Regions from separate parts of the Homo sapiens genome. Here region 2 is linked to region 1. The links are contacts of gene promoters, found by promoter capture Hi-C in blood cells and fetal thymus (Javierre and others, 2016). All regions are on one chromosome and are shown on one strand. The core of a region is centred on a gene start or on the middle of the fragment in contact, and the rest is flanking DNA. Distances in the headings are between cores, read along the strand shown. Region 1 holds the start of PCDHB7 (protocadherin beta 7). Region 2 overlaps PCDHGA1 (protocadherin gamma subfamily A, 1).

What was found. The method cuts DNA at HindIII sites, captures the fragments that hold promoters and counts their contacts. A CHiCAGO score of 5 or more calls a contact.
Region 2: a fragment that was not itself captured here is called in contact with the fragment with the promoter of PCDHB7 in region 1 in 2 of 17 cell types (endothelial precursors and fetal thymus); the score reaches 5.7 in endothelial precursors.

The regions. Positions count from the first base shown.
Region 1 is chr5:141,171,287-141,174,146 of GRCh38, reverse strand. PCDHB7 (protocadherin beta 7) reads right to left here and starts at 1,503. Exons shown (of 1, transcript NM_018940.4): 1 at 1-1,503. The coding sequence starts at 1,311. It also overlaps PCDHB@. The HindIII fragment of the contact is 10,030 bases long and covers 1-2,860 here.
Region 2 is chr5:141,427,559-141,430,418 of GRCh38, reverse strand. All of the region lies in intron 1 of PCDHGA1 (protocadherin gamma subfamily A, 1), which reads right to left. All of the region lies in intron 1 of PCDHGA2 (protocadherin gamma subfamily A, 2), which reads right to left. All of the region lies in intron 1 of PCDHGA3 (protocadherin gamma subfamily A, 3), which reads right to left. The region is part of intron 1 of PCDHGB1 (protocadherin gamma subfamily B, 1); the gene reads right to left. It also overlaps PCDHGA4, PCDHGB2, PCDHGA5, PCDHGB3, PCDHGA6 and PCDHGA7, and 10 more genes. Among named protein-coding and RNA genes, the nearest start is that of PCDHGA12, 1.5 kb to the left of the region's middle. RefSeq lists an enhancer at 1-16. The HindIII fragment of the contact is 930 bases long and covers 897-1,826 here.

The DNA of each region.
Region 1 (2,860 bases), core at 254-2,753:
TATGTTGTGCTCGGTTTTCAGCCTGGGTGTCCCCAAGTCGGTGACGGTGATGGTGATGTTGTACTCAGTGTTCCTCTCTCGATCCAAAGGTTTCTCTGTTACCAGAGTATAGAAGTTTTCGACAGATGGCTTCAGGATGAAGGGGACATCGTCCTGGATGGAGCACACTGTCTTTCCATTGTTCCCGGAATCTCTGTCTCTAATCCTAAAAACAGCCACGACTGTCTCGGGTGAGTTTTCTGCAATTGGGCTAGTAAGTGAAGACAGGAGCAGCTCGGGTCGATTATCGTTTATATCTGTTACATCAACCACTACAGTGCATTTTCCAGAAAGCCCGCCGCCGTCTTTGGCCTGAATAGTTAATGTGTAAGTTTGAATTGCCTCATAGTCCAATTGCGCTTTAAGATGAAGACTGCCAGATGTTGGATTGATTTGAAACGTTTTGAGAATTCTTTCAGTGGCGTAAGAAAATGCATAGGCTATTTCCCCATTACTTCCGGTATCTAAATCTCTGGCTGACACGGAGACAACCATGGAACCAACGGGGCTATTTTCGGGCACCTGCACCTTGTAGAGCGACCGCACAAAATCAGGGGCGTTGTCATTTACGTCTAGAACCAGAATGCGCACGAGGGCGGTCCCTGATCTTGGAGGAGAGCCGCCGTCTAAAGCGGTGAGGGTTAAACTGAACTCTGGTATCTCTTCCCGATCCAGCACTTGATTCAGCACCAATTCGGGATAGATATTCCCCTCCCCGCTATCATGGACATTAATATGGAAATAGGCATTGGGGCTGATGGTGTAGTTACTCAGGCTGTTGGTTCCAACATCTGAATCCTGTGCACTCTCTAGGAGAAATGCCGCCCCTGGAGTGGTACTTTCTAATATTTTCAAGGAAATCTCTCTGTCTAGAAATACTGGAGCGTGATCATTGATGTCTCTGACCCATAGTTCAGCACGGAAAATCTGAAAAGGTTTTTCCAATAACAACTGGAAAGGCAGCACACAGGGCTCTCTGGGGCCACACAGTTCCTCTCGGTCCAATTTCTCATTTAGAAGTAGATCACCAGTAAGCGAACTGAGCAGTAAAATTTGCATGTTCTGGTCTGAAACAATTCTAGTTCCCCGGGCTCTCAGTTCCCCTACCCCTAACCCTAGGTCTTTTGCCAAGTTGGTAAGAAAGGTGCCTCTCTCGGTTTCCTCCGCCACAAAATACCGAAGCGGTTCGGCGCCAGCCCAAGACATTCCCAGAAATACACAAAGAAATAAGACTTGCCTTTTCTGCACAGCACGCTCCACTCTGGCCTCCATTCTTCTTTGGATCAGTCTTTCAAAATGACTTTCACTCAGCCTCCAGCGGCTCTCACAAATGGCAGCAGCGGAATCCTTTGAAATGAGCTGAATAATAGCAATGTTTGTGGGGAAGGATCCTCATTTTACCCCAATTCCTATTACCACTGTTTCCTTTCCTATGCTTTTCTCTTCAGATTGCCTCTTTGCTCTGGAATCTGTAACATCCTTTCTTTGTGAAATTATTTTTCTCTCTCTCTTTTTAGCCAGCAGCGCCACCTTGCGTTTTGTGGATGTTATTCCCGTTATCAAGACTAGAACAAAAAGATGGCGGATTGAAGGAATTCTGCAACAAGAATGATTTGTCCCCGGTATCTTTGCTGTTTCATTCCATCTTTATCCTCAAATGGTCACAGTAATGCTAGTAAGTAATAGCTGATGTCGTTTTCCCCTGTGATAATCTGGATTCGTAGAAGAATTAATTTATAGTCTTCTTAAATCTAGGAGCATGAAACTAAACTCTGACTCCCCACCGAAATCCTAAGAAAATCTCCTATTTTAAAAATGGATAGTAAAAATATATATGAGAAAATGAAACCTCCTCCTTGAAGTCAACAAATATTGGTTGGGGACATTTTATTTATTTGTAAAGTATTTAACAATAATAATGTGAATATGGCAGAATAATTGACCCTTTTCCCAATTTCTTGTGAATTAAACAATTATTCCACTTTCCAGGTCTTAACTCTTTACCTGTGATATTTCTTGGAACACTTTATGCCTCCCCCAAACCCAACCTTCATCCTTCACCTGATTTAAGTATTACATAAGAAATTATTGTTCCTCTATAATTTCAGTGACTAGAATCTCCAATGTCCAATGAATACTCTTAAAATTAGTAGTAGCAAGTTGGTCAATCTTGCATTTGTGGAAGTGCTTCTAGCATTTCATCTTCAACTATGATGGTTGATCTCAATTTGGGGTAAATATTCCTTTTTTGAATCAATAAAGTTTTCTTTTTATTCTTTCATATTTTGAAGTGATTTTTGATAGCTGTTGAAATAATACATTTATTCTTTAGTTTCTAAATTACTGAGTTATTGATATAAATGACATTTAACCATAATGTATTATTGTTTTAGTGCACAGATAGATATGATGTGTCAACATGGTTTTAGGATTTTTCTAGTTAATGTTGTTTACCTAGTGCGTGTTTGCCTTTTATGGCCTTGGTATTAAACTATTATACTGGCATCATAGAATGTGTTAGGGAGCTTTTTATCTATTTTATACAATAGTTTTAATAATTATATTATTATATGTTTCTACATGCTTAATTCCAGCTTGTCTTTTAAACTGGTTGGGTTTGGTGACTTCACTTGCAGTAGATCAGTGACTACCATTTACATTTTACCTTTGGTTATTAATCTGTTCAGGTTTTGTATTTTTAAGTAACTTGCATTTTATTTTGAAAATCATTTTATCTAGTTTGCAAATTTCTTGGAATTGTTTTCATTGCGTTATTTACCTTTAATTGTATCCCTATTTTTATTAGTGATGTTTAGCATTT
Region 2 (2,860 bases), core at 112-2,611, 260 kb before region 1:
TTTAATAGAAACTTTAGTGAGCTTTTTTTTTTTTTCCCAATGAGCTTTTTTTTCCCCAATGAGCTTTTAAATGAATTGGAAGTTTCTATAAACAATGATTTTAATCTTATAATGTTAGTGCATCTGCTTTGAGATTACTGTTCCCCCAACACACCTATTATGGAGATGTCTCCCTAGGAGTTTCTCTTTTTGACAAATCATATAATATAATAATTTAAACTTTCTGATTCAGCTATAATTTGGGGAAAATATTTTTAAATAGATTCCTTGAATGATCCTGAATGGAAGGATTACTTTACCAGGTTGTTGACATGTAACGCTTAAAAATCAAATTTTCATGATATTATGGAAACCTAAAAATGATATGTGATTGTATACATTATCAGAATCACACTTAACAAGAACCCAAGTGAAAAAGAAACATTAATATTTTTAGCATAAAGTAGAAGCATTCCAACTTGCATTGACTGGAAATAATGGAAGTACTCCAGAATTCTATTAATACATTATATTTCAAAAATATTTATTGTTCAGGAAACTTAGTAAAAGAAAATTGGTAGTCCAAAGAATGTTACAGACTTACCTTTTCCTGGGTAACTGACCTAATTGTAATTACTGAGAATTACTGGTAATACTTTTGGAAGCCCATCAAAATATAGGGAAAAAATTCTCCCTAAGAAATAACTGGCTACGTACTTTCATGAGCGTAAATATTTATACTGTAAAGATATTTGCTAGGCATAAAATAAAATAATATATTTTAAATTGGGAAGAAATATATAGGTAGCTGTGAGAAAATATCAGACATAAAATTGAGTTTACTTGAATTACAAGAATCAAAAGTAAATGTAACTGAATATTATCAAATCATTACCATGTTCTTATTTTTTTAAGCTTTTTTCTCTGCCAGGCACAGTTTCAGGCAACTGTAGTCTCAGCTACTCTGGAGATTGAGGTGGGAGGATTACTGTAGCCCAAGAGTTTGAGTCCAGCCTGGGCAACATAATGAGACCTTAATCTCAATTTTTTTTAAAAAAAAAACACATTTTCTCCATTTTCTCATGCATTTTCTTCAAAATTTATAGTTAATGGATTAAAGAAAAAGCCTTATATACTCAAATATTGATGTCCCAAGAAACATCACAGGAAAAAAATTTATTCCTCAATTAAAATATCTCAATGACAGCAGTATCATAATACCCACTTTTCACACGTGTGTGTGTGTGTGTGTGTGTGTGTGTGTGTGTGTATAAACAATGTCTCCGGGCCGGGTGCAGTGGCTCACGCCTATAATCCCAGCACTTTGGGAGGCCGAGGCGGGCAGATCACGAGGTCAGGAAATCGAGACCATCCTGGCTAACACGGTGAAACCCCGTCTGTACTAAAAATGCAAAAAATTAGCCGGGCGTGGTGGCGGGCGCCTGTAGTCCCAGCTACCCGGGAGGCTGAGGCGGGAGAATGGCCAGAACCCGGAAGGCAGAGCTTGCAGTGAGCCGAGATCATGCCACTGCACTCCAGCCTGGACCACAGAGCGAGACTCCGTCCAAAAAAAAAAAAAGTCTCCCGTAAAAATGGTGAAAATGTTTCAAAAATACATGAAAGCTAATAATGAAGTTACTGGCCCACACAGAAAGGAACAGGAAATATTAAGAGTGGGCAAACAAACCTGAAGCAATAGTAGATATAATATGTTTAAGATTTTCTTGCCAAAATATTGGTTTGAAAATTAAACCTCATCCATTTGTAAATGAAAGACATTCATTGGAACTCACGTGAGTAGGAGCAACAGAGTTAGAGCTTATCTTGTTATTCTCTTCAGTGAAGCTTGCTACCAGAGAAACTTCATTAGAAAGATCTTGTGGGGGGACTGTTTCTGGTGTCATGGTGAGAAAATTAAATCTTCTTTTTCTAGAATCCGAGGGAACATACAGATTGCAGGAATAAAGCAAAGTTCCCTCATTGTAGTTGGGAAAAACCCCTGGTCTAGTCTTAGAACAGAGACCAGGGTGAAAGCAACCCCAGGCAGAGGGGCTGGAAGAGCATCGCAGGTGCAAGGCGACCGCCAAAATCACTGCGAGGAAGAAGAGCATAGAAATCAAGGCCAAGGCCACGACCAGGTAAATCTGCAGCTTTGCTTGGGAATCAGAGGGCACAGGACTGTCACTGAAGTCTGGCAGTGCCTCCTGCAGGCTGTCTGCGAAGACTAGGTGAAGCGTAGCGGCGCAGAGAGCGGCGGCTGTCCTCCGTCACGCACAGCAACCAGCAGGTTCCCGTGTGCAGCCCCAGGCTGAAAAGCCCGGGCTCGATGGCCTGCAGCACGTGGTAGGACAGCCAAGCGTTGTGTCCCGAATCTGCGTCCACCGCCACCACCTTGGTCACCAGGTAGCCGGACTCTGCGGCGCGTGGCACTATATCGAAGAGTGCGGAGCCATCGGGCCCCAGCGCGGGGTACAGCACCCGCGGCACATTGTCATTGAGGTCGCCCACCAACATGCGCCGGCTCATGTTGGCGCTGAGCGCGGGCGAGCCCTGGTCGTGGGCCTGCATCGTGAGCTCGAAGGCGCACAGCTGCTCGTGGTCGAAGGCACGCTGCGCGACCACCACCCCGCTCTGTGCGCTCACGGACACGTAGGACGACAGTGCCCGCAGCTCCAAGTCAGTGGTAACGATGGAGTAGGAGACTTGGCCATTCAGCCCTAGGTCCAGGTCAGAGGCGCTGACTTGTGGGATGGAGGCTCCGGGAAGGTTGTTTTCGGCCACGTGGACCACGTAGGAGACTTGGTGGAAAACCGGAGCATTGTCGTTGACTTCACCAATGCGTAGGGTGAGGCTTGTGCTGGATGAGAGCGGAGGCTTGCCC